7 separate regions of the Homo sapiens genome follow, and regions 1, 2, 3, 4, 6 and 7 are each linked to region 5. Evidence: promoter capture Hi-C in 16 types of primary human blood cells and fetal thymus (Javierre and others, 2016). All regions are on one chromosome and are shown on one strand. Each heading gives the region's core, a stretch centred on a gene start or on the middle of the fragment in contact. The rest is flanking DNA. Distances are from core to core; before and after follow the strand shown. Region 1 overlaps BIRC6 (baculoviral IAP repeat containing 6). Region 2 overlaps BIRC6 (baculoviral IAP repeat containing 6). Region 3 has its middle 31 kb from the start of LINC01946. Region 4 overlaps BIRC6 (baculoviral IAP repeat containing 6). Region 5 holds the start of SLC30A6 (solute carrier family 30 member 6). Region 6 overlaps BIRC6 (baculoviral IAP repeat containing 6). Region 7 overlaps LOC107985862 (a long non-coding RNA gene).

The links. Contacts are between HindIII fragments. The CHiCAGO score rates a contact against its expected background, and 5 or more counts as called.
Region 1: a contact is called between a fragment that was not itself captured here and the fragment with the promoter of SLC30A6 in region 5, in 1 of 17 cell types (total CD8 T cells). The highest score is 5.4, in total CD8 T cells.
Region 2: a contact is called between a fragment that was not itself captured here and the fragment with the promoter of SLC30A6 in region 5, in 1 of 17 cell types (non-activated CD4 T cells). The highest score is 5.8, in non-activated CD4 T cells.
Region 3: a fragment that was not itself captured here is called in contact with the fragment with the promoter of SLC30A6 in region 5 in 1 of 17 cell types (total CD4 T cells); the score reaches 5.2 in total CD4 T cells.
Region 4: a fragment that was not itself captured here is called in contact with the fragment with the promoter of SLC30A6 in region 5 in 1 of 17 cell types (monocytes); the score reaches 5.1 in monocytes.
Region 6: a contact is called between a fragment that was not itself captured here and the fragment with the promoter of SLC30A6 in region 5, in 1 of 17 cell types (neutrophils). The highest score is 6.1, in neutrophils.
Region 7: a contact is called between a fragment that was not itself captured here and the fragment with the promoter of SLC30A6 in region 5, in 1 of 17 cell types (erythroblasts). The highest score is 6.4, in erythroblasts.

What each region holds. Positions count from the first base shown.
Region 1 is chr2:32,539,580-32,543,294 of GRCh38, forward strand. BIRC6 (baculoviral IAP repeat containing 6) reads left to right here. Exons shown (of 74, transcript NM_016252.4): 62 at 3,662-3,715. Among named protein-coding and RNA genes, the nearest start is that of MIR558, 9.3 kb to the left of the region's middle. The HindIII fragment of the contact is 238 bases long and covers 1,749-1,986 here.
Region 2 is chr2:32,464,277-32,468,143 of GRCh38, forward strand. It overlaps BIRC6 (baculoviral IAP repeat containing 6), which reads left to right. Exons shown (of 74, transcript NM_016252.4): 25 at 233-547; 26 at 789-888; 27 at 3,249-3,463; 28 at 3,627-3,835. Among named protein-coding and RNA genes, the nearest start is that of MIR558, 66 kb to the right of the region's middle. The HindIII fragment of the contact is 1,401 bases long and covers 1,055-2,455 here.
Region 3 is chr2:31,832,485-31,836,591 of GRCh38, forward strand. No RefSeq gene overlaps it. Among named protein-coding and RNA genes, the nearest start is that of LINC01946, 31 kb to the left of the region's middle. The HindIII fragment of the contact is 6,628 bases long and covers 1-4,107 here.
Region 4 is chr2:32,559,912-32,563,575 of GRCh38, forward strand. All of the region lies in intron 65 of BIRC6 (baculoviral IAP repeat containing 6), which reads left to right. All of the region lies in intron 1 of BIRC6-AS2 (BIRC6 antisense RNA 2), which reads right to left. Among named protein-coding and RNA genes, the nearest start is that of BIRC6-AS2, 13 kb to the right of the region's middle. The HindIII fragment of the contact is 6,417 bases long and covers 1-3,664 here.
Region 5 is chr2:32,163,760-32,167,869 of GRCh38, forward strand. SLC30A6 (solute carrier family 30 member 6) reads left to right here and starts at 2,105. Exons shown (of 14, transcript NM_017964.5): 1 at 2,105-2,144. The coding sequence starts at 2,142. SLC30A6-DT (SLC30A6 divergent transcript) reads right to left here and starts at 1,980. Exons shown (of 1, transcript NR_185886.1): 1 at 1,282-1,980. RefSeq lists an enhancer at 3,425-3,941. The HindIII fragment of the contact is 4,145 bases long and covers 1-2,968 here.
Region 6 is chr2:32,506,167-32,510,296 of GRCh38, forward strand. It overlaps BIRC6 (baculoviral IAP repeat containing 6), which reads left to right. Exons shown (of 74, transcript NM_016252.4): 51 at 1,814-2,093; 52 at 3,572-3,828. Among named protein-coding and RNA genes, the nearest start is that of MIR558, 24 kb to the right of the region's middle. The HindIII fragment of the contact is 6,562 bases long and covers 1-4,130 here.
Region 7 is chr2:31,686,656-31,690,587 of GRCh38, forward strand. LOC107985862 (a long non-coding RNA gene) reads right to left here. Exons shown (of 6, transcript XR_001739388.1): 3 at 1-83. Among named protein-coding and RNA genes, the nearest start is that of SRD5A2, 110 kb to the left of the region's middle. The HindIII fragment of the contact is 2,051 bases long and covers 1,329-3,379 here.

The DNA.
Region 1 (3,715 bases), core at 618-3,117, 380 kb after region 5:
TGGATGAAAGAAGAAATCACAATAGATACTACAAGATATTTCAAAACGATAATGCCAACATGACATGGGATATAGCTACAGCAGTCTATAGAGAGATTTTATAGCTTTAAATGCATATAATTAAAAGAGGAGATTTATCAGTGGTGTACACTGCCACCTCAAGAAACTAGAAAAACAGGAGTACAATTAACCAAAAATCAGAAGCAAGGAATTACTACAGTAAGAGCCAGAATCAATTAAATATAAAACAAAAAAATCAAAGAGAAACAAGAAAGTCGTACATTTTGTCTTTTGAGACTTCTAGTAAAATTGATAAACTATGAAAAATTTTCAAGAAAAAGGGAAAACCACACAAATTGGACATCCACAAATGATAGCAAGCACATTATTATAATTTCTATAGAATAAAATAAGGTACTATTATAACCAACTTTATGCCAACATATTTGATACTTAGATATAATGGATAAATTCCTTGAAAAACACAACCAGAATCAGTAGAAGAAGTGCATGTATACGTTTGTATGTATACACTTATGCAGAATTGTAATCAAACATACAGAATTTTTAGTCTGTTTTCATTTTTAAGTACCATGGTTATGATTTTGAAATCACATTAATCCCATGTTTCTCCAATTTAAACTGAAACTCATTTTTTGTTCTTAAATTGGAGCATTTGACTACTTTAGAAAGTATCATGTCTTCTCAGTTTGCTGTGACATATAATGAGTATCAGAATTAAAGACATCACATGGTTGGAATATCGTAATTCCTAAAAGCCTGTGATATAAATCATATCCTGTTCATCTAATTTAAAATAATTTATTTGTGTTTTAGACATTATTCAAAGTGAGCACGTCCTTATTAGAGTCTTTTCTTTGGGAAATTGAGCTGTTTTATCCTAGTATATCAGAAATAAAATTTCTTTGTTGTTAATTGAGCAAAAAGCATGTTTTCATATACTTTTCAGTTTTGACTTTCAAAATGTGAAATAATACAAGTGAATATAATACTTTAAAAAATTAAATCCACTTAATATTAATACCCTAAAACAGTTCTGTTTGAATCGTTATACTTGTGACATTTATGTAAATATCAGTTTATATTCTACTGTTTGGTGCTTTTGCTGAACCTGTATTTTGAAATTAATCTTTGTTGATGCCTAAGCCTGTGGTGGTCTCATTTGTATAGCTCTAGCATACTTGCTGTATATTTAACTATACCTTATTGTGTGTATTAGTCTTAATGTTGACTAGCATTTTTATTTCCAGTTGTTAGCTATAATGAAAAAAGTTGTGAAGAATTGTATACATATCTAATATAAGACTTAAAAATTTGTATCTGTATAATGGGTGATGGGAAATATATGATAGTGGTTTTAATTTGCTCTTCTGATTTTCGTGAAGTTGAGGGTCTTTCACTTGTTAAAGAATTTGAATGCTATAAATTGAGAGCTCTTTGATTTTGCTGTCTTTTTGCTTTCATTGTATTTGTTTTGTTTTGTGGCATCATATGAGAATAGTCCTTTAAGAAAACAATTATGATGAGGTAAAGTTCTGCTTCTGTAACAATGTTCTATTATATAGGTACTTTTATATGAAACTATCTTCTGTGCAGCATAAAATAATAAATATAGAGGATCTTTAAAAATTTGCCTATAAAGGGTTTCAAAATGGTTTAGAAGTGAAAAGTGCCTCAAATTCCTATGTTCTTACAATTAGGCTATTTCATATTGTCATTCTGGCCTAAGCTTCAGTAGTGAAAATAAGCTGGCATCAAAATTGCACCTGTTTTATTCAGTGTACAGATGCATGTAGTGTAGCCGTAGATCAACTTAAGACTGATCTAAGCTGTAGATCAGCTTAAGACTTCTACATATATATGTAAAAGAAGGAAGAAATAGTGAACTAATCACAGAGTTACCTCACCATTCATTTAAAAATCACCCCACAGAGTTACCTATCAGTCTACTAAAGTCATACAGGAAGCTTAGGAATCATCCTGATGTTTGAAGTGAATAGTGAGATAACTCTGTGATTAGCTCACTATTCATTTAATTATATGTTTGAGTGTGGAACTTCAAATTAGTATTTAGTGAAGTGCATTATTCATGGTCAAGCAAGATAAGTAGAGTATTTCTAAATGCAATGAGAAGTTTGTAGGGCAACCATGCTCAGAATTGGAGTTTTTCTTTGAATTATTAAGATTAAATTATAGACATGATGCTCCTTTATTCCTAAGTTCAGAAAACTTCTCTTGGATAACCATATACAGTTATACAAATCAGAAGTTCACACTGACTCTGTACTATAAACTGCAAATCTTATTCAGCTTTTGCCTGTCCTTCTAATGTTCTTTAGGGCCAAAGAAAAATCAATTTTCTTTTGCGTGGTTTGAGGATACTGGTAGTTCAGGATCATATATTGCATTTTGTTGTCTTGTAGTCTTGCATATGTAACAATTCTGCTATCTTTATTTATCTTTCATGGCCTTCATGGCCTTGACAGTTTTGAAGAATACATGCTAGAAATTATGTCTATATATATATATATATTTACACATGTATACATACATGTATTTTCTAGGTATGTTTGCTGATAGGACCCAGAAGCAGACTCCCCCTAGTGATATATGCATATATATCTCCCATATTGTCATTTTAAAAATTTTCTACTAAAGGAAATCAGGGCTCCTTGGAGAAATTCTAGTACTGAGGAAGAGTAGGTAGAACATGAGCCTAGAATGTTTTGCTGTGCTAGAAAGCAAGGAAGTGCTCAAAGAACGATGGGGGACAAGTTATAAGGAAGTAGGATCCTGCTTTAATGGCGTCTCAGAGACAAAATCTTATTCCCCTCAGGCATCAAAATTAATAATGATAGTAACAGTGTAATAAAGTTAGAATCTATACTGATAAAAATTAATGGATAAGAAGAGAATATTTTTCCTTATAGCTTGGTGCCAACTAATAAATGTAGAAAGAATGACAGAATTAGAAAGTTCTCCTTTTCTTAACCACTTTAGTAATAATTGTTTCAGGCACAATTATAAAAATGCTAAGACTGATCAAAAGTTTGGTGAGAAATAAGATGTTTAAATAGTCTCAAGAATCTGCATATAGATACTTAACTAATTATAAAGGTGGAATTAATAACTAATGTAGAGACACTTGGCAGACACTGCCATACTTCTGCTGTCATGTGCGTCTTGATGTTTGGAAGCTTGTTTTTATTTTTATTTATTTTTTTGAGATAGTTTTGTTGCCCAGGCTGGAGTGCGGTGGTGTGATCTTGGCTCACTGTGCCTTCCACCTCCTGGGTTCAAGTGTTTCTCCTGCCTCAGCCTCCTGAGTAGCTGGGACTACAGGTGTGCACCACCACACCTGGCTAATTTCTGTATTTTTAGTAGAGACGGTGTTTCACCGTGTTGGCCAGGCTGGTCTCGAGTTCCTGACCTCAAGTAATCCACCTGCCTCAGCCTCCCAAAGTGCTGGGATAACAGGCGTGAGCCACTGCGCCCGGCTGGAAGCTTGTTTTTTAAAGCAAGCAGCTTTATTAATCCTTATAATCCTATATTTTAAAGAGATCATTTAAAGTTAAGTCTTTACTTTGAATCTGATGTTGAAAATGTGAATGGCCAAGCCAACACTTTTCTTTTTCTTTAGGTGAGTGCTCCAGTTGTAACATCTACCACTCAGGAAAAGCCGAAGGATAGCGAT
Region 2 (3,867 bases), core at 505-3,004, 300 kb after region 5:
ACCTTGAAAGAGTCCTAGTTCCCAAATGCACAGGAAATTTTGTGTTAAACATTTAAAGTGTATATAGCAAAGCAATGATCCATTTATATCGAGTCCAGTTTTGATTTAATTTCATCTTTAAGTATGATCAATTTAATCATGTTTATCTTCATAATATATGTCCATGTGGTATTCTGCCACAATTTAGGTAGGCAGGATTAGTCTATATATGTTGCTTTTACTTCTTTTGCAGAAAGCAAAGCTGGAAGCCAAGTTACATCAGACAACAGCTGCAGCAGCTGCAGCAGCATCAGCAGTAGGTCCTGTTCACAACTCTGTGCCTTCCAACCCAGTGGCTGCCCCTGGATTCTTCATTCATCCATCTGATGTTATTCCACCCACTCCAAAAACAACACCTCTTTTTATGACTCCACCACTCACTCCACCCAATGAAGCAGTTTCCGTTGTGATTAATGCCGAACTTGCACAGCTTTTCCCAGGCTCAGTCATTGATCCCCCAGCAGTCAATCTTGCTGCACATAACAAAAATTCCAACAAGTCCAGAATGGTAAATTATGTTTTAAATAGGTGTTGGCTTAGACATTTAAAAATATCTTGAAATATACTCTAACTTTAGAAGGCAAAATTTTTAATACCAACTAGATGTATCAAGTTATTTTCTTTTATAAAATATTACAGTACATACATTAAGAGAAGAAACTTATTAATTTGCTATTATGGTTAGTAGTTTTTATAGAACTATAGTAATATCAATATAAAGTTAGATTTTTTTTTTTTCCCTGCTCTAGAATCCACTTGGTTCTGGTCTAGCCCTTGCAATTTCTCATGCTTCACATTTTCTTCAACCTCCGCCTCACCAGTCCATTATTATAGAGCGAATGCATTCAGGTAATCTTTTACTTTCTTAAATTTTTTTTTTTTTTTTTTTGCTTAGTCTGCCGGCCTTTTAAAGACTCATTATTCTTCAGTTCGATTTTTTTTTTTTTTTTTTTTGCAAATCGCGTTTCCTCTTGGGTTAAGTACATTTTATCAAGAATAAGCACTTACATGTTCAAGCTTTGTGCTCACCAAATTGCATAAAGAGTGCTGTTGAGTAATGGATTTGATCTATATATGAATCTTGCCTGCTGATACATTATTGACATAAATAATTTATTGTAGTTGGTCAAATCACCATTATACTAGAAATTACACTCAAAATATTCCTAAAACTAGCCTTCTTATAGTAGAACTCTTTCTTGAGAAGAGCAAACAGAACTACTGCTTACTGTAATAACTGGATAAGAATAATAACATATCCTAGGCTCTGAATAGTTTGAATGTTACCTGAGTTTGTCTTCTGCTTATATGCTACAGAACTGACATTGGGATAGATGCTTTCAATCACAACATATTTGTGAATAAACTCTAGGCAACTTTTCTCTTAAAACAGTTGGTTTTAACTACCACCAACATTTTTGTGCTTTAGCAGCAGTAGAATTCAACAAAATCCTCAGGGAAATAACATGGTTATAGTATACACTGTAGCATGTATCATTATATGAAGAATTAAATAGTATTTGCGTTCTTGCAATGTGGTTGTTTCCTCTTTGTAAGAGGGAGTTTGAAAGCTAAAATAAAAGTCTTACAGTATTTTCTGCCCAACTAATCATTCATTGGTAACAACATTAGTGTTGATGACATTTAGAGTGGAAATTTGTTATTCTGAAGTCTTATGGGAGATGAGCAGTTGTTTACACTGTAGTTTGTTTTTTTATACATAGCAATGACTGTAGTACATAAGCCTCCTGAGGAGGATAACTATGTTCTTTCTTTTTTTTTAATAATTTTTCTTGTTAGGGAAGTATTAGTAACTGCCTTGTTTTCTTTTAAACTAGCTCTGTCGAGAATAGCACTATTCCTAGAAGTTTAATTTAGTTGTTTTCCTTCACTATAAAATGTAGCTGGTAAGATTACTAGCTGACCCACCCCAAAACAATAAGGAAGAAAAAGAATTATGACATTATTAATGATCTGCCTTCTGTTTTTTAATTGAACTTATTCTTGTAATGTGGGTGAAATGAGGGATGTAAATCTGCTTTTTCTTTACCTATCTCATCTGGCATTGAGCTGAAGAGACTGGGATATGTCTATACTGGGAAAAAGCATTGTTTGAGATCCATTAGAGGACCTTCCCAAGGCCTTTTTCAGTGGTATTTTGATTATATATGATTGTAGTCCTGCTTTCACTTTGGATCTAAACCCCAATGAATGCAATATGCAACTTCACAGGAAGTTAAGCAGGGCTTAAGGAAACTAAATCAAATAATACTATTTGGTATTTAAATGCATCTAGTTGTGAAATTAAGAAAAAAAGTTGCCAATGGCTGAAAGAAGAGCAGATTGATCCTTTACAAAATTAACTAATATACTGCATTTGCTGATTTAATTTTTTAAAACTCTGATGTTTTAAAGAAGCTTGTTTGTATAGTGGTTGATTGCCTTAACTGTAACAGTAGCAGTCTTACTGTTGTTTTTTTGTTTTGTTTTGGTTTTGGTTTTTGTTTTTTAAAGAGACGGGTGGCTAGGTGCGGTGGCTCATGCCTGTAATCCCAGCGCTTTGGGAGGCCGAGGCGGGTGGATCACGAGGTCAGGAGATTAAGACCATCCTGGCTAGCTTGGTGAAACCCTGTCTCTACTAAAACTACAAAAAATTAGCCGGGCATGGCAGCGGGCGCCTGTAGTGCCAGCTACTTGGGATGCTGAGGCAGGAGAAAGGCGTGAACCCAGGAGGCGGAGCTTGCAGTGAGCAGAGATCGCGCCACTGCACTCCAGCCTGGGCGACAGATCGAGACTCCGTCTCAAAAAAAAAAAAAAAAAAGAGGGGTTTCGCTGTATTGCCCAGTGTGGAGTATAGTGGCTATTCACAGGTGCAGTAGCAGTCTAGTGTATTGCAGCCTGGAGCTCCTCGGCTCAAGCAATTCTCCTGTCTCAGGTCCCCCAGTAGCTGGGACTAGAGGCACTTGCCACTGTGCCCAGCTACTCTTAATTTTCTACTTACGTCTTGGGGTTCAAAACTAACACAGACTGGGATTTCAGAAAATTTTTGAATCAATTGACAAGGCCATTTTTACATATTTACTTTTCCTCTTATTTATAGTTTAGTGAGTTGCTTTCATATTTTAAGATGAGTGCTCCAAATTATTTTTGAGTGTATCATTTGGTTAATTGATATATTTTTGGTCAACTGTTTCTTCTTTCTCTCATAGGAGCAAGAAGATTTGTGACCTTGGATTTTGGGAGGCCTATATTGTTGACTGATGTATTGATTCCCACTTGTGGAGACTTGGCCTCTTTGTCAATTGACATTTGGACATTAGGAGAAGAGGTGGATGGAAGGCGGTTGGTAGTGGCAACTGATATAAGCACTCATTCACTAATTCTTCATGACTTAATACCACCTCCCGTGTGCAGATTCATGAAGGTAAAGAACTTTAAGAAAGTAAATTGATACGCTTTCTATGTTTCTGACAAGTTATGAAAAATGAATATATAATTAAAAAATATAACTATCTTTTTAAATACATTGCTCAGATTTTTATTGTGGCAGATGTGTATATATGTATATTTATAATTTTTCATTTCAGATCACTGTTATTGGACGTTACGGGAGTACAAATGCCAGAGCCAAAATCCCATTAGGATTTTACTATGGTCATACCTACATCTTGCCTTGGGAAAGTGAACTGAAGTTAATGCATGATCCTCTAAAGGGAGAGGGAGAATCTGCAAACCAGCCAGAAATTGACCAGCATTTAGCAATGATGGTTGCTTTGCAGGAGGATATACAGTGCAGGTTAGTACAGAGTGCAAATTTTAATGTTATTG
Region 3 (4,107 bases), core at 982-3,481, 330 kb before region 5:
TGTTTCTCAAGCCCCTTTGCCTCTTCATTGACTCGTCTTCTCTCCTGACTCACCCTGACCTCAACTATCTTTTTGTCTCACTTCTAAACTAGACAGGGTATGTCTTCAAGATCAGTGTTTCTATAGCCATAATAGCTCATCAAAGGCAGTTTCCGATGTTTCTCCCCGCTAAGCATAACTTTGTCACCAGCACTGATTCTACAGGCCACCTTTTTCTATTACAGTTTGAAGGATACTACAGCCACACTTCTCTATCTTCCATTCTTTTATTGGTATTATTATTATTTTAAAGACAGGGGACTTGCTCTGTCACCCAAGCTGGACTGGAGTGACGCAACCATAGCTCACTGTAACTTTGAACTCCTGGGCTCAAGTGATCTCCTGCTTCAGCCTCCCAAGTGGCTGGAACTACAGGCACATGCCACCACACTGGCTCTCATTCTCTTTCATTCTGATGTCTCCTCTATGCATCTCAAATGTTGCCTCTCTTCCCACATTCAACTTCCCCTCAGAGGAAGAATATGATAAGGTCATTTAGTCCCTATTCTATATGGAGAGTCCCTATTAGGTGTCTTTTTCCTCAGGTACCTAATCCTCACTCATTCATCCTGGCCAAGGTCAAAACTCATAATCCACAATCCATAAAGAACTTCCCATTTTTCTCAAAAGGGGAGAGAGGGAAGAACCAGAAAGATTAACAGAAGCATAGAATTATATTGTTTATTGGCACATTTAGGATAATTTAGTGTCTAATTACCTTTAAGAAAAAGACAATGAGAGCCTGGGGAACATAGTGAGATCCTGTCTCTGCAAAAAAATAAAAAAATTAGCCAGGCATGGTGTCACACACCTATAGTCCCAGCTACTGAAGAGGCTGAAGTAGGAGAGAGAGAGAGAGAGAGAGAGAGAGAGGGAGGGAGGGAGGGAGAGAGAGAGAGAACAATGCGGCAATGAGGACAGAGAGGTTAAGTAACATGTTCCAGGTCACACAGGAATTGGCAGAATATTGACCAGGACCAGGGTCTCATCACTCCATATCCACCCACAATGCCAGCCACCCGATAAACCAGTAGCTTTCATATCTTTTAAAACCACGACTCAGAGTAAGAAACATATTTTACATTAGAACATAGTGCACGCGTGCACACACACACACACACACACACACACATATCCCTCACTACACATGTGCGTATAAATAGGGTGTATGTATATGTGTATAGAAAGTGCCTTATAAATTATAAGCTCTTTACATGTGGTAGCTCATTTAATCCTCACAATATCCTGTAAGGTTATTAATATCTCGATTTTACAAATGAGTAACTTGAAGCACTTAGTGACTTGTCCAAAGACAAGTAACCAGACCAGGATTTGAATACAGGCCCTGTGGCTCCAGAACCCATGCCCTTAGTCACTTCATACACTGTCTCTCATGTTTTGCATATGGACTAATATGTTTATGTATATACATGTGTGTGTATTGATGCATAAAATACTTTACTTTGTGTGGTGCACTCTATTTTCTATTTTATTGCACTTTTCAAAATTTACTGCAAACCACTAATTTTATATATAACCCATATTTTTAAAACACTTGAAAAACACTGCTATACTAACCAGGATAGATTTCCTTTTTAGATTTTCTTTTTAGAAAAGAAGGATGCAAAGTTTAAAGACAGCTATAAATTGGTTATTAACTAAAAGGAAGAAAGCTCCAAGTTTCTGTCTCATAGGAAGACAGTTGTCTATCACTTCAGAGAAAAGATGGAGAAATTATTCTTGTATAGTATTAGTAATATCTCTGCAACTCAGACATGGAAAAACCATTCTCTAAACCTCAAGTTCACCATAATAGTGCAGCTATCACATTTATTATTCATTTGAAGTTATTTTTGAAGTTTTTTTTTTTATTATACTTTAAGTTCTAAGATACATGTGCAAAACGTGCAGGTTTGTTACATAGGTATACATGTGCCATGGTGGTTTGTGGCACCCATCAACCCATCATCTACATTAGGTATTTCTCCTAATGCTATCCCTCCCCTTGTCCCCCATGCCCTGACAGACCCCCGTGTGTGATGTTTCCCTCCCTGTGTCCATGTGTTCTCATTGTTCAAGTCCCACTTGTGAGTAAGAACATGTGGTGTTTGGTTTTCTGTTCTTGTTTTAGTTTGCTGAGAATGATGGTTTCCACCTTCATCCATGTCCCTGCAAAGGACATGAACTCATTCTTCTTTATGGCGGTGTAGTATTCCATGGTGTATAAGTGCCACATTTTCTTTATCCAGTCTATCATTGATGGGCATTTGGGTTGGTTCCAAGTCTTTGCTATTGTGGATAGTGCTCCAATAAACATATATGGGCATGTGTCTTTATAGTAGCATGATATATAGTCCTTCGGATATATACCCAGTAATGGGATTGCTGGGTCAAATGCTATTTCTAGTTCTAGATCCTTGAGGAATCTCCACACTGTCTTCCACAATGGTTGAACTAATTTACACTCCCACCAACAGTGTAAAAGCGTTCCTATTTCTCCACATCCTCTCCAGCATCTGTTAGTTTCCTGAGTTTTTAATGATCGCCGTTCTAACTGGCATGAGATGGTATCTCATTGTGGTTTTCATTTGCATTTCTCTAATGACCAGTGATGATGAGCTTTTTTTCATGTTTGTGGGCAACATAAATGTCTTCTTTTGAAAAGTGTCTGTTCATATCCTTCACCCACTTTTTGATGGAGTTGTTTTCTTCTTGTAAATTTGTTTAAGCTCCTTGTAGATACCGGATATTAGCCCTTTGTCAGATGGGTAGATTGCAAACTTTATTATGTAAATTTTATAATCTACATGATAGAATTTATATCAGTCTGATTTAGCCCATGATTACACTATAAACTCACTGAATAGATTCTACTGGTATAGACATCTTTTTATGTTATGGTGTCTACATCATCATTTATATCTACTACTGCCACTAACATTAGCAATAATAGTTATTATAGTTATTATAGTAGTTATATTATACAATTATATTATAATAGTTATTATTATACACATGTATGTATATCTATCTCTACATGTATGAAGGTAAGTCTTAGTTGCCTATAAAGGTCTGGTTTTGTCCTTGCCCAAGAGATTTTCATAAGTGCAACCCAAAAATAGACCATGCAAGTTAACACTATCTTTCTGATACTCTCAGTAGGCATTTATAGAGCTGCGTCTAAAGGTTGAATATCCTTTATCTGAAATGTTTGGGACCAGACATGTTTCAAATTTTGAATTTCTTTCAGATTATGGAATATTTGCATAGACATAATGAGATATCCTGGGGATGGGATCCAAGACTAAACATAAAATTCATTCATGTTTTATATATACCTAATACATATAACCTGAAGGTAATTTTATATAATATTCTTAATAATTTTGTGCATGAAACAAAGTTTAGACTGCTTTTTGACTGTGACCTGTCACATGAGGTCTGGTGTGGAATTTCCTACTTGTGGTGTCACGTCTTTGCTCAAACACTTTTCAGATTTTGGAGCATTTCAATTTTTGGATTAAGGATTGTCAACTTTACTATTGCTTATGTCACTGAAGTAAAACTTTAAAATTGTTAAAACTCCCCTTTCAATTTCTTGAGTCGGCCTGCAATCAAACCTTTGTAATTAAACCCTCAAAGAACCTGTTGAAATTATTCCAGACTAGTTATTCTAAACCAGTTTTTACTCTCCTTTTCAAATGTCTAGTACATAATGGATTCTCAATGAATGTGATAGAGATATAACAGTTTAGTTCACATGCAAAATCATGAGAAAACCTATGAAAAACTTAAGGTCTATACCCAAAGAATGCTATATCAAGTATTATCCCACTCACACCAAATATTCAGCTATTAAATGATTGATAGTCTGTGTTAAGGAAGTTTAGAGGCTTTTTTTCATATTCACTCTAAGATTATCACTGTATACTATGAAATACATAGGATTGGCTGGGCACAGTGGTTCACGCCTGTAATCTCAGCACTTTGGGAGGTCAAGGCGGGTGGATCACTTGAGGCCAGGAGTTCAAGACTAGCCTGGCCAACATGATGAAACCCTGTCTCTAC
Region 4 (3,664 bases), core at 809-3,308, 400 kb after region 5:
AGGCTGAGGCAGGAGAATTGCCTGAACCCGGGAGGCGGAGGTTGCAGTGAGCCGAGATCACGCCACTGCACTCCAGCCTGGGCAACAGGGTGAGACTTCATCTCAAAAAAATAATGACAACAATAATAATAAATCCGATATAAATAACACATGTCAGGTTCCAGACATAGGCATAGATTGTCATATGCATTAATATAGAATTTGACTTAAAGAAAAGCATACTTACGTAACTAATGGTTGTCAAGAAAAATACAGAAATACAAAAAACTTGATATTTTTAGTTTAAAATGAAGAAATTTGATATCTTGAGATATTTTTTAAAGTACAGTAATGAAATTTAAAGTTCTTTTTAAAATTTTAAAGATTTTTGTAAAATAAACACACAATTTTATCTCTCACATTTTTTGGACTATTCCCAGTCTCGTGTGCCAGTGCTTATTATTACCTTGTTTTGCTAGCTTTTGCCTTCATACTCCTTGATATGAAGAGAATATCTTCTTCTATTTCCATAATGTAAGATTCCCAGTTGGCCTCTCCTAATGCTAACTCAATAGAGTAAAATATATACCAGTTAAATAAGAGGGAATAGCATGTTTCATTTATTTCAGAGGAGCTGTGTTGTTTTCTCTATGCCCTTTTGTTTACATGTGAATATAATGTAACTATATATTTTTTCTTTTTTCTTCTTCAGTCATAGTCTTCTCTGCCACCCGGGCTGGAGTGCAGTGGTGTGCTCATAGGGCACTGCAGCCTTCAATTCTTAGGCTCAAACATCCTCCTGATTAGCTGGGACTACAGGCACCTGCCACCATGCCCAGCTAAGTTTTAAAATTTTTTGTAGAAATAGGTTCTCATTATGTTGCCCAGGCTAGTTTCAAAACTCCTGGCCTTAAGCAATCCTCTTGTCTCAGCCTCCTGAGTCACTGGGATTGCATACATAAGCCACTGTGCCCGACTTTTTTTTTTTTATGCAACATCTCGTGCTTTATAAATTGACCTGCAAGTAGGCCGGGGGCGGTGGCTCACACCTGTAATCCCAGCACTTTGGGAGGCCGAGGCGGGTGGATCACGAGGTCAGGAGGTCGAGACCAGCCTGGCCAACATAGTGAAACCCCATCTCTACTAAAAATACAAAAATTAGCCGGGCGTGGTGGCACGTGCCTGTAGTCCCAGCTACTTGGGAGGCTGAGGCTGGAGAGTAACTTGTACCCGGGAGACAGAGGTTGCAGTGAGCCGAGACCATGCCATTGCACTGCAGCCTGGGTGACGGAGTGAGACTACATCTCAAAAAAAAAAAAATTGACCTCCAAGTAACATACTTTTTTTTTTTTTTCTTTTTTCTTTTTTTGAGATGGAGTCTAGCTCTGTTGCCCAGGCTGGAGGACAGTGGCACGATCTTGGCTCACTGCAACCTCCACTTCCCAAGCTCAAGTGATTCTCCTGCCTCAGCGACCTGAGTAGCTGGGTCTACAGGCGTGTCAGCACGCCTGGTTAATTTTTGTATTTTTAGTAGAGGCTGGGTTTCACCATGTTAACCAGGCAGGTCTGCAACTTCTGACCTCAAATGATCTGCCCACCTCGGCCTCCCAAATATCTGGGATTACAGGCATGAGCCACTGTGCCCGCTCATGAGTGATATACTTTCTAATTAGTATTCATTAATTATGAAATTTGAAATCGTTCGATTTCATTTTATTTTGATTTTTTTTTAGTTGTAAATTATATTCAAGGTTTTTTTTGAACCTAAAGTTTTTTTTAAAGTTTCTGGGATTATCTTTTATGTTTATATGAAGAAATAATGCTTTAATCATGTATATATATATATATATTTATTTATTTATTTCTAGATTTTGCTGGGGGCAGTGCTCACGCCTATAATCCCAGCGCTTTGGGAGGCTGAGGCGGGCGGATCACGAGGTCAGGAGTTCGAGACCAGCCTGGCCAACATGGTGAAACCCCGTCTTTACTAAAAATACAAAAACTAGCCAGGCGTGGTGGTGGGCCCCTGTAATCGCAGCTACTCGGGAGGCTGAGGCAGGAGAATTGGTTGAACCCGGGAGGTGAAGGTTGCAGTGAGCCGAGATCATGCCATTGCACTCCAGCCTGAGTGACAGAGTGAGACTCCAACTTAAAAAAAAATAAAATTATTATTATTTCTAGATTTTAACAATTGGAATTATCAGTTATATTTGTGCTTGCAAATTTGTGGGATCTCTTTTTCCCCTTCTCTTCCTTATTGAACTTTAGCATGCTAGACTGTCTTCATTATTCATGTATGGAGAAGAAGATTCTCATTTTGTGGTTTTGGTTGTTCTTAATACCTTCATAATAATTTAATTTTTAAAACATAAACATATCTTGTATTACTTGTATTCTTTTATAATTTTATCTAAATTGCTGTTGAGTATTTTTAGGTTCACAGAAAATTGAGCAGATAGTACAGAGTTCCCATATATGCAGTTCCTACTCACAGTTTACTTATTCATATTTTGCATTAGTGTAGTACATATAATTGATGAACTAATAGTGGTATGTTATTTTTAACTAAATTTATAGTTGAAATTCGAGTTCGCTCTTTATGTTCTACAGTTGTGTGGGTTTTGACAAATGCGCAATTTTATGTATTCCACCATGACAGGATCACACAGAAGAGTTTACTGCCCTAAGAAATTCTATTAATCCTGCATCCCTTCCTAATCCCCAGACCTCTGGTAACCACTGTTCTTTGTACTGTCTCCATAGTTGTGCCTTTTTCAGAATGTCATATAGTTGTAATCATAAGATCTAGCCTTTTAGATTGGCTTCTTTCATTTAATAATATACATTTAAGTTTTGTCCATGTGTTTTCATGGCTTGGTGGCTGCTTCCTTTTTTATCGCTGAAAAATATTCCATTGTATGAACATGTAAGTGTTTATTCATTCACCTTTTGAAGAACATCTTGATTGCTTCCTTTTTTTGGCATTTATGAATAGATCTGCTATAAACATTCACATACAGATTTTTATTCCCAGTTTTGTTTCACTGATCTATTTGTTTATTCTTTCGTGAGTACCACATTGTCTTAATTGTCGCAGCATTATAGTCAGGTGGTCAAGTCATATAGTGTCAGTCCTCTGACTTTGTTCTTCAATGTTGTGCTGGCTATGCTACGTATTTTGCCTTTCCATAGAAACTTAATCATTTGATTGATAGCCACAAAATAACTTGCTGGGGTTTTGGTTGGAACAATGTGTCCTCTGTTCTGTTTCTCTTTGTATGTTACATGAAGAGGGTTGAGAACGGTGAAATACTATGTGCACTACTTTGCTAAATGAGTTTATAAAGCAGTGCAAATGGTAATCTTTGGGTACCTGGCTATATTTTTATCAGTATAAATTCTGATTTTTCAAATATTTCGATGTAGACAGGGAAATCATTCAAAACTGTGGATTCCATTCCAGCAGATGTAGCTAAAATGGGGGGGCAGGAGAAAACTGTGGAATAGGGAAGGTTTTTTCTAAGGCTTCATTATTGTGCCAGTCTCAAGTTGAAAAGAGGCTACATGATTGTACATTCAAGTCTTATGTTTTCCTATATTTGAAAAATAAAAACATTTATAAAATATATGCAATGTTTACTGGGTGCTTTTCCTCGTATTAGTGTTTTAAAGCAATTGAAGAAAA
Region 5 (4,110 bases), core at 855-3,354:
TTTGAGATGGAATCTCTCTCACCCAGGCTTCATCTCAGCTCAGTGCAACCTCCGCCTCCTGGGTTCAAGCAATTCTCCTGCCTCAGCCTCCCGAGTAGCTGAGATTACAGGTGCCTGCCACCACACCCGGCTAAGTTTTATATTTTTAGTAGAGACGGGGTTTTGCCATGTTGGCCAGGCTGATCTCAAACTCTTGACCTCAAGTGATCTGCCTGCCTCAGCCTCCCAAAGTGCTGGGATTACAGGCATGAGGCACTGTGCCTGGCCTCAAATTCTTAGAATACTGCCTACCACATATTGAATGTTCATTAAATCCTAGGTATAGGACAGGGGTGTTGGCTCATGCCTGTAATGCTAGCATCTTGGGAGGCTGAGGCAGGAGGATCACTTGAGCCCAGGAGTTCCAGACCAGCCTGCGCAACATAGCAAGACCTCTCCTCTACTAAAAAAGATTACTGTGGCTGCAGTGTGGAGAACAGATTGTCGATAGATGATAATACCTACGATTTTATTTATTTTTTACTTCTTATTTATTTTTTTGAGATGAAGTGTTGCACTGTTGCCCAGGCTGGAGAGCAGGGGCACGATCTCGCCTCACTGCAACCTCTGCCTCCCGGGTTCAAGCAATTCTCCTGCCTCAGCCTTCTTAGCAGCTGGGATTACAGGCACCCGCCACTACGCCCAGCTAATTTTTTTTATCTTTAGTACAGACAGGGTTTCACCATGTTGGCCAGGCTGGTCTCAAACTCCTGACCTCGTGATTCGCCCGCCTAGGCCTCCCAAAGTGCTGGGATTACAGACGTGAGCACCACACCTACTCAGTTGTTCTGTATACCATTACATGTTCAGCAACCCTAATCCAACCATCTGAAATTAAAATGCTCCAAAATCAAAACTTTTTGATCATCAACACGATGCCACAGTGGAAAATTCCACACCTGACCGCATGTAAAAAGCTGTAGTCAAAATTTTGTTTGATACACACACAATTTTTAAAATTGCATAAAATTACCCTGAGGCTATGTGCATAAGGTGTATACGAAACATAAATGAATTTCAAGTTTAGCCTCTGGCCCCATCCCCAAGATAAAGAGCCACAATCTGAAACAGTTCTGGTCTTAAGCATTTGGGATGAAGGATACTCAACCTATACCCAGTTTTCTACACGACACTACTTATGAATATCTTTTAAAAATTTCTTTATCCCTACTTGTTTTCTGTCTTCCCTACCAGAATATAATTTTCACGAGACCAGTATCTGACAAACACACGTGCTACATATTCAATCTTTATCGAATGAATTTAATATTTTCCAAGTTTTCTATAATTAACATTACTTCTATATTATTAATTTTATAGAGAATCCAAATAGCATTTTATTAAGTAGACCATTAGTCGGTCCGAGTTCAAATTCTGCTACTACAGCAAACTATATGTAGGACTCAAGGCAAGTTTCTTTTTTTTGAGACGGAGTCTCGCGCTGTCGCCCAGGCTGGAGTGTAGTGGCGCGATCTCGGCTCACTGCAACCTCCGCCTCCTAGGTTCAAGCGATTCTCCTGCCTCAGCCTCCAGAGTAGCTGGGATTACAGGCGCGTGCCACTACGCCCGGCTAATTTTTGCATTTTTAGTAGAGCCGGGGTTTCACCATGTTGGCCAGGCTGGTCTCGAACTCCTGACCTCAAGTGATCCGCCTGCCTCGCCGCCGAAAGTGCTGGGATTACAGGAGTGAACCACCACGCCTGGCGGAGGCAAGTTTCTTAATCTTCTTTCCTCACTTGTAAAACTGGAATACTGTCCATTTTCATAAGGTTAAATCATACAACACAGGTAAAAGCGCTTCAGCACGCAACGAAATTTTTCTAACGTAACGAAAAACTCCTCGTTGCTCCTTGCCTTGCCCTTAACCTCAACGCTTCAGGTCCCGACCAATCTCTCGGAGAGCTCAGAGGGAGCCGCTCTAGCCGCCTTCCGCCACGGAGTGCAGGGACAGCCGGGAAGGGGACGGAAGCCGGAGGCCAGAGCACGCACTTCCTCCCACGCTTTCCTCACAGCCAATCGCCCACTGGTGCCCCACCCCTTCCGTTCTGGGAAAACTCGAGCACCCAGAACGGCTTCCGGCGGGAGCTGTGCAGCTCCTTATCATGGTGAGTTGGCTGTTGGGGTGAGGGTTTCGGCTGTAGCTGATTCGGTTTATCTTATTTGGTCCCGAAGCGACCTTGAAATCCCTCAGCCACCCAGAGGAGGGGTCATTGGAGTTGAAGTCGGGCCCCTTGGCAGGAGCGGCTGTCTCCCAAAATGTTCCCCTTCAGAGTTCTGGTCCCTTTCGGTCCCTCACCTGTTCCGCAGGCGCTCACGATCTAGGCCCCGCTGCAGGCAGAGCTTTCAGCTCCTGGCGAGTTTCTGACTTCCCTCTGCCGAGATTTCTTTAAGGTAATAAAAGTTTTTGCCAGCGTCAACAACTAGGCCACCAACAAAAGATCTGAAAACAAGTCCACAGCAACAACTGTAATAGTGATTCTTAGAGCAGTGGCGATAACGCCAGCGGAAAAAAAAAAAAAAGGTTAGTAATAGGGTTTTAGGGCAGACGTCTCACTCTGCAACTTGGCTTTACTAAATATTAAGTAGCCTGATTACGGCAGCAAATTTCATAAGCGCAGTAACTACAGAAAGTCAAGGTGTTGGTAGGACATTTTATTGCTGCTTTATTTCTGGGTTTGTAGAAACTAATGGAAGACCCAGTAGACGTTATGGTTGTTGGGATATGGTGTTTTCTCTCAAATTTGTTAGAATTAGTCATTCTTTGCCTTTAGAGCTCAAATATATAGCTCTGAACTTTAAAGATAAGCAGTTGGTTGGGATTTGAAGTGTCCAAGTGGCGTGTGCCTTTTGAAAATGCATTTATTAGAAAAATTTATGGAGTACTTATTGATAGCCTACGTATGAGAAAGAGACCACATTTCTGTGCCTAAGCTTTTGTCACTGTACTAAGTTTTTTACTTAAGTGGATATGGTCGGGAAAATGCCTCATTCACACACTTTATGTTTTGTAAATTTTCTGTAATCCTTTTGCACACAGAAAATGGGTAAAAGTTTACACTTTTTGGCTAATGATCAAATAGCCTTCAGTTACGCTCTTCTTCAAAACATTCACCATTGTGAAGCCTGTAGCCAGAGTTATATTTCTAAAATTTGACCACATCACTCCCTTACTCAAATTTTCTCCTTTTTTTTTTTTCTGTAGCACTCAAGATAAAGTCCTGTTTAGCATGGCATACAAAGCCACTCATTATCAAGCTTCTTACTTTTACAGCCTCTTTTTTTGTTGTTGTTTTCGAGACGGAGTTCCACTCTTGTTGCCCAGGCTGGAGTGCAATGGCGCGATCGCGGCTCACCACAACTTCCGCCTCCCGGGTTCAAGCGATTCTCCTGCCTCACCTTCCCGAGCAGCTGGGATTACAGGAATGCGCCACCACGCCTGGCTAATTTTGTATTTTTAGTAGAGACGGGGTTTCTCCATGTTGGTCAGGCTGATCGCGAACTCCTGACCTCAGGTGATCCTCCCGCCTCTGCCTCCCAAAGTGCTGGGATTACAGGCGTGAGCCACCGTGCCAGGCCACAAACTCTTTTTTTTTTTTTTTTTTTAATGCATACATGTATGCAACATCCGTATTTCAGCCACAGTGAATAGCTTGCAAATCATGCTGTATTAATTGAGCCTTTGTACCTAATTTGCATATGCTCTTCCATCCCCAGAATTGTTCTCTGTTCTCTATCGGCTGTCCTTATCAGAATAACCCTTATATATCCTTAATTATTTTTCATGAACCTTTCCCTCATGTTCCAGTATCCTCTTAGTTGCTTCTCCTTTGTGCTCTGGTGGTACCTTGTGCTTTTATATGCACAAACACACACACACACACACCAGTTTTGTTACATAAAGCTGCACAAAACGAATACATACAATAGAAACTTAACTTGCCTATAATACTGATGATTTGAAGGGAGTTGAAGATAAAGGGATAAGAGACTTAAAATTCAGAGGTCTTTCAGATTATACACCTTCATTAACTCACAGCCCTAATTTAAGAAAGTAAAACTTGAATCTCTTGT
Region 6 (4,130 bases), core at 1,341-3,840, 340 kb after region 5:
TTCACAAATGCTTTCAATATAGTTATAATTTTGCCAGAATTGTTTAAATTAATACACATGCTTACATTTATTGATTGATTCTCATTGCTATCAAATATCACTCAATAATTGCATGAGGAGCTGTGGGAAATGTTGTAGATTCCTGGCATCTTTGGAGAAAACAATTTTTTTCTATGTGTTTGCAAGATTAGACTGATATAGCTTAATTACTTGTGGCATCCACACTCCTTAGATAAAAAACAGATAATATAAAGGTAGAAGGAAAATATGCTAGTACACGGTGTTTTAGGAGGTCAAAAATAACTATATTAAAAGGCAAATATAAGTCAATGTAAGACTTAGGCTACCTCTAAAATTGGAAAGAGATTGCTTTTATTTGGAAAGCAAAGGAGTTTGGTCATAAGTGGTGGCTTTTGAAGTTCAGCTGGATTTTTCATATGGGAATTGAAACAGGAAGCATATTATGAAGGGGGAACCCCTGTGAAAAATTAATTGGTTTAGGTGTTCCCTACTTAAGTGTACTTGATTACAAAATTTGGTTTTATTATTGGATTAGAGCAGAAGTTGAAAATATGTTGTGATACAGTGGAAATAACAGTCTTTAGAATCAAACATGGACTTGAATCTAAGGTGTGACATTTCTTGTGGGAGCGTGGATTACTTAATCTCTTTTTGCTATGTCTGCTTGTGTAAAATGTAGATAATACTTTCCTCAAAAGGTTTTGAAGTAGAAATTTAAAAATTAACTTGACTGTCTAGTAATCAGTGTAAAGCTGGCATGTAATTCCTTCTTTTTTTACCACTGAAATTAAAAATAAAACCAAATTTCAAAAGTTTTAGTTGACATATTTATTAGATGGGGTTCCATGTTAAGCTAGAAATAAATAATTTTCTGGTAGTTCATTGGGGACTCCTTAAATTTCAGCAAGAATTGATTTTTTAAAAAAAATCCTGTGGATATTTGGTTTAATTTGAAAAGGAGGCTGGGCGCAGTGGGTCACACCTGTAATCCCAGCACTTTGGGAGGCTGCGGCAGGTGAATCACTTGAGGACAGGAGTTCAAGACCAGCCTGGCTAACATGGCAAAACCCTGTCTCTACCAAAAGTACAAAAATTACCTAGATGTAGTGGCACCTACCTGTAGTTCCAACTACTCTGGAGGCTACGGCAGGAGAATCACTTGAACCTGGGAGTTGGAGGTTGCAGTGAGCTAAGATCGTGCCACTGCACTCACTCCAGCCTGGGCAACAGAGCAAGACTCTATCTCAGGAAAACAAAACAAAACAAACAAAAAAAAATTTCTAAACTCAGCTGTGAGGTTAAACTCAATGTTTAAAAAAATCACAATCTAGTAGTAATAGAATAATTGGTAGATAAACAAGTTTTATTACATTTTTCCCCAAATTATTTAAAATAGTAAACCATAGCATATTAATCAAAGGTAGTTTTGTATTATTTGTGATAATTTTGAGTAAAATAGAAATGATGACATAATTACCTATTTGGCTGGTTTTATTCATAGGGAGCATCAGGTACATGTGCATCACACATCTTTGGTTCCTCTTTTTTTAGGTGAATATTAGACTGTTTAAGTATAATTTTTATTGTAGATCAAATATTTTGTGTTGAAAAATAGCTCCAACATTAATTATGGTGAAAGTCATTGTCAAACTATATTTTGTTGTATAAGTTTTCCTTTTACAAGTTCATGATGAATACAACTGTGAAAGCTGCTATTTTACTGGGATTTTAATAAACTGTTCAATCTAGTATACTTTGTCTTTTGTGATGATTCAGTTTTCTCTTTTTATAGCCTGCCCTTCCTCAGTGTCTGTTGAAGTAAGTGCAGATGGGGTAAATATGCTACCTTTGTCCACTCCTGTTGTCACAAGTGGCCTCACCTACATAAAAATTCAGCTTGTAAAAGCCGAAGTAGCTTCTGCTGTCTGCCTTAGACTACATCGTCCACGGGATGCCAGCACATTAGGCCTTTCACAAATTAAATTATTGGGGCTCACTGCTTTTGGTACCACCTCTTCTGCAACAGTTAATAATCCATTCCTTCCATCTGAAGATCAGGTATCCAAAACAAGGTATGTTTTGTTTGTCCTTTTTTTTTTTTTTTTTTTTTTTTTTTGGCATGGTTGGGAGATAGGGGACTTAATTATTTTGTGGGTTTTTTCTTTTTTAGGTCTTAGGAAGGTCTTTGTTCCATAGGTATCTGTATAATACAATTTTATTAGGTGTAATAGAGACAGTTTTGTGGAAACAGAATGCTGACACTGATTAAAATTAAGGTGTATATATGTTTAGTCTTTGAGATGATCTGTATGCTACATGTAGGTGTACATTGTAATTTTCTGGCTTGTAATTTTTTGTATCATACTCTGTTTCGGGAATTTGCAAATGCCTATGACCAGCCTATGACATCTGAACCATACCAACTGACCTTAGAAACAGCGACCTAGTCTTATATGGTAATTCCTAAATGTTAGTTAACAGAAGGATTATGTCTGAACCAAACTAACAAGGACCCAAATATATTTTTTAATCAACATTTTTCTGATAAATTTTGACAGCTGGATGTTTTATAGATGGATTTTATTGAAAGTTCTGCCTGATAAAAATGAATTTAAGGCCTGGCTCAGTGGCTCACACCTGTAATCCCAGCACTTGGGGAGGCCAAGGCGGGCGGATCACGAGGTCAGGAGATCGAAACCATCCTAGCTAACAGGGCGAAACCCCATCACTACTAAAAATACAAAAAATTAGCCGGGCATGGCGGTGTGCTGCTTGGGAGGCTGAGGCAGGAGAATCGCTTGGACCCAGGAGGTGGAGGTTGCAGTGAGCCACGATTCCACCACTGCACTCCAGCCTGGGTGAGAGTGAACTCTGTCTTTAAAAAAAAAAAAGAATTTAGGATTTCTATTTTCAAGGTGCTAAGACTACACAGTTTTAGAAGTCTATGATAGTAATCAGTTTATCAGTATATATAATTGCATGTAAAAGAAAGTTTCTGGATGATTGCCTAAAAAAGCAAACCCATGGTGTCTAAGTGCTATGAATACAAGTACTTTTGTATGTGATTTATCTTTCTGTTTGTTTTGAGACAGAGTCTCACCCTGTCGCCCAGGATGGAGTGCAGTGGTGCAGTCTAGACTCACTGCAACTTCTGCCTCCCGAGTTCAAATGATTCTCCTGCCCCACCTTCCCAAGTAGCTGGGATTACAGGCGCCCACCACCATGCCCAACTAATCTTTGTATTTTTAGTAGATAAGGGGTTTCACCAAGTTGGCCAGGATGGTCTCGAACTCCTGACCTTGTCATCCACCTGCCTCGGCCTCCCAAAGTGCTGAGATTACAGGTGTTAGCCACCGTGCCTGGCCATGATTTATCTTATAGGGGAAACTTACTGTCTGTTTACTTAATTTGCAGCATTCTAAAAAAACATGTCTTAGATTGGTTAATGCTGTTTATGAAACACAACATGCTGATCTTTAAAAAGTTATGTTCTACCCCGAAGTGATTTGAGCGACTTATATTGATCATACAAGTCATTTTGTATTTTCAGTATTGGATGGTTACGGTTATTACATCATTGCCTTACTCACATAAGTGATCTAGAAGGAATGATGGCAAGTGCAGCTGCACCTACTGCTAATCTGCTGCAGACTTGTGCGGCCTTATTGATGTCACCTTACTGTGGAATGCATTCACCCAACATCGAGGTTGTGCTTGTAAAGATAGGACTGCAGTCTACTAGAATTGGCCTGAAGCTCATAGACATTCTCCTGAGAAATTGTGCAGCATCAGGCAGTGATCCTACAGGTGATAATTAACTTTGATATTTAAATGTTTACATATCTGTAAAGTAACAGCAGTTGAACTGTGCGATCTTCGTGCTTAACTCTGTTTTGGGAATTATTTTTTCTTTTAGTTTATGTTTATCTCTCCTCTCTTCTCTGATGGAGTCTCACTCTGTTGCCCAGGCTGGAGTGCAGTGGCGCAATCTTGGCTCACTACAACCTCCACCTCCCTAGTAGCTGGGATTACAGGCATCTGCCACCACACCCGGCTAATTTTTGTATTTTTAGTAGAGATGGGGTTTCTCCATATTGATCAGGCTGGTT
Region 7 (3,932 bases), core at 1,104-3,603, 480 kb before region 5:
TCTCTGCCCTAGATCTGCAATCAGCCGTCTCCTCAAAGTGTCCTGCAGCTGAGGTTGCCAGCCATTTCAGATACATAATTCATCTTGTCAACAGATAACACAAACTTATCATACTGATAAATACAGTACAATACAGTAAACATATTCTCTCTTTTTTATGATTTTCATAATAACGTTTTCTTTTTTCTAGCTTACTTTATTGTAAGGATACAGTATGTAATACATATAACAGGAAAAGTATTTGTTAATTGACTTTTGATGTTATTGGTAAGGCTTCTGGTCAACACTAGATACTAGAAGTTAAGTTTTGGGAGAGTGAAAAGTTATACACAGATTTTCAACTATGTAGGGGTTGGTGCCCCTAACTCCCATGTTGTTCAAGGCCTAACTGTAACAGCAAATCAAAGCCAGTGGGGTGTGTGCGTGTGTATGTGTTGTGTGTGTGTGCATGTATTAGCAGTCCTTGCTTTGCACCGTAGCACGGGACCCTAAAAGTGACTGTGCATGCTGAAACCCTGTAAAGTAATTTTAATTATCAATGGAGAAATCACAATTGTTCTGTGACCTTTAAAATTTTTTTGTGAAGACATTAAAAACTATCTTACTGTTGGTTATGAATATATAGGAAAATGGTGAGGGAAAACAGTAAAACTAATATTTATTTAGTACACTGTAATTTAAAACCTTAGTAATATTGAGAATTGTCTTATTTCTTTGAAAAAACCACTTATCAAGCACAGTTGGAATAGTGCTTGTCTTCTTCACGTCACATAATTTAGGATATAGAGTGAGATTCTGTTTAATGCGTTGGTGAAGGTAATGAAGTGGCCTCATTGACTGGGGTGATACCTGAGGTTCATTGTCTCATGCCAAGAAAATCAAGGATGTGAACACACAAGGAGCAAGATTAAAATCAGAAGTTTAATAGGCAAAAGAGAGGAGCTCTATGAAGCAGAGAGGGGTCCCAAAAAAATGGGTTGCTGGATCCGTGGCAAAATGCAGGGGGGTTTTATAGAAGCCCGGTGAGGAGGTGGTGCCTGATTTACATTGGGCAAAAAAGATTGGTTGGACTAGATGTGCCATTTATGTAAGGTGTGAAAAACTGGTTAAGGCTAGGTGTGCTGTTTGCATAGGGCACGAAAAGCTGGCTGTCCCCACCCTAATCTTTTATTATGCAATTGGATCCTATGCCTGCTGGTGCCATGTTGCCTGTTTCTTTATTGTACATGTGGTAACAAACAAAGGGAAGATGGAGCATCCATGTTGGATATGTCTGTCCTCCAGGCAGCCCTTTTCTATTGGCACAGCTTCCAGCATTCACCCATGCAAGCTTCCACCTTGCTTATCTATATTTGCAGCTCAATTTTTCAGACTGCTCTTTGTTAAAAAAGAAACGATTTGGGGGGATGCTTTTTGTTTAAAAGGAAGCCCTGCTGAGGACTCTTTTACCTTCACTATCTGCCTAAATAATTCCTTTCTATCTCCTCTATCATATTTCCCCTCTCAGGAGTGGTAACCCTAACTGCTGTTAGGGGGTGTTGGATGACGACTCTTTCTGGCTACTTCCTGCTGAAAAGGGGTGTTGTGTGGGGAAAAACAGCTAGGGCTCCTCCTGGGGTCAATCTAAGCATCCTCAGAAGAAAGGTGTGTCCATTCATGGTTCCATCTGCAGCACCATTTGGAGTTTAATAACTTCTAAGTGAGAAGAGATAAATTTTACAAGAAGATTTAGAATATAGGGCTCGAATATGAGTATTAAGATTACCATTATTAGTGGGGGTAGTATAGGCCATAACCATGACAATAGGGTTTGACAGCTGTTAGCCATTCCGATTGGTTGTAATACTAGTTTGCCTCCACCAGATGTCGCTGTACTTTACCAGAAGCGTTAATATAAAAGCAATGTTTTTCTTAGGATAAGTGACATTGGATTGGGTGGCTAGAGTAACTTTAGTGTTAATTTTGGCTAAATCTTTCCTGTAATTATTATATAATTACTTGTTACAAACATGATAATTAGGCAGAATATTACAGCAATTAAAATTTTGCAACCAGAATTCCACATTGCAGGTGCCACAGTGTATAGTCCTACTGCAAATAGTAGAGTGAGTATAGCAGTTCCCACAAGAGTGGCATAATACATAATTTCCATCTAAAATTTTACTGACTAAGATATAGAATTTCCCTTGGGGGGTTTATGAATTTACAAATTTAATCCCATGGATAATCAAAATCTTCCTGCAAGTATGCACCAAAAAGAAGTTCTAATATCTGACAGTGAATTTTGAGAGGAAATGTAGAAATGACCAGAAGTATCTGATAAGTTAGGGGTGAGACTTAGTAGGATGAGTAACCCTTACTCATTTACTTATCTTTTCTGATTTTCAGCTTAAGATCTCCTATTTCTTTGCATTGATATCAGGGACATTCCTCTAGGCTGTCAGCAGTTGCTCCCTCAGCCTTCCAGGCTTTGACTTGAATGTGATGTATCCAGGAGTCAATTTTTGTAACTTTTACCGCCAAGGGGGTTGAAAGAAGAAAAGTGTAGGGCTCTTCCCAGCTTGGGCTTAGGGAAGGAGAGAGAGAAGGGAGAGCTTTCAGCAATACAAAATCTCCTGGGTTAAATAAAGGTGGCCTTGTTTCTTGGGGTTGGGCTTCTGCTAGTTGTGTTAATTCCTGTTGAAAGGGAGCCAGAGAGGTTACATGCTTAACCAATTCAGAGGTTTCCTGGTCTAATAAAAAATCACTGGTAAGGAAAGGCCATCCATACAGCATCTCGAAAGGGCTTAGACCTAACTTTGAAGGGGTATTTCCTACCCACAATAAAGCCATGGGAAGACGAGTGACCCAAGGAAGGTGAGTTTATTGGGACAGTTTTCTGAGGTGTCTTTTGATAATATCATTTGTCTTCTCTACCTTTCCTGAGGACTGGGATCTCCAAGCACAATGGAGATGATACTGTATGCCTAGTGCCTTTGAGATCCCCTGTGTGACGGCTGCCCTAAATGAGGGGCCATTGCCACTTTGGAGGTATTTAGGTAGACCAAAGTGGGGAGTTATTTCATTAACTAACACTTTTATTCTCAGACGACTTTTCTGTATAGCATGGAAATGCTTCTACCCAGTTAGTGAAAGTATCTACCCATACCAGGAGGTATTGAATGTCCTTCATCTTTGGCATGTGGGTAAAATCTATCTGTCAGTCTTCCCCTGGATAGCTTCCCATCCTTTGGATTTAAGGAGGAAGGAGCTGCCTGTTGAGGTGATTATTTTTAAGACAGACTTCACAAGCATTAACATATTTGACTATTCTTAATAAGTTCTCCCCTGTAAACAATCTCTGGGCACACTGATAAGTTTTATCCTTTCCCAAGTGAAAAGCTTGGTAGAGGAGAGGGTCTTAAGGACTTTCTATTGACTACAGGCTGGCAAGTGGAGTTTGCCATCCTCTGACTGTAGCTACCCTGAGGGCTGGAAAGTGTACCCTCAAGAAATGGCCATTCTATTTCTGGAGGGGAGTACTGGGGCTTAATTTCTCTTACAGAGCCTTCCCAGATTAGAGAGGTTTTGAGTGTGTTAAGAACCTGAGGCTTAATTGCTGCTGACTTGGCTGCCTGATCAGCTAACTTTTTTCCTTCAGCTATTTCATCTGTTCCCCCTGATGTCCCTTACAATGCATCACTGCTGTCTCTTGTGGAAGGAAAACAGAGGATAATAACCTGTTAATTTCCTGATGGTATTTTTTTTTTTTTTTTTTTTTTTTTTTTTTTTTGAGACGGAGTCTCGTTCTGTCGCCCAGGCGGGAGTGCTGTGGCGCGATCTCCACTCACTGCAAGCTCCGCCTTCCGGGTTCACGCCATTCTCCTGCCTCAGCCTCCCGAGTAGCTGGGACTACAGGCGCCCGCCACTGCGCCCGGCTAATTTTTTGTATT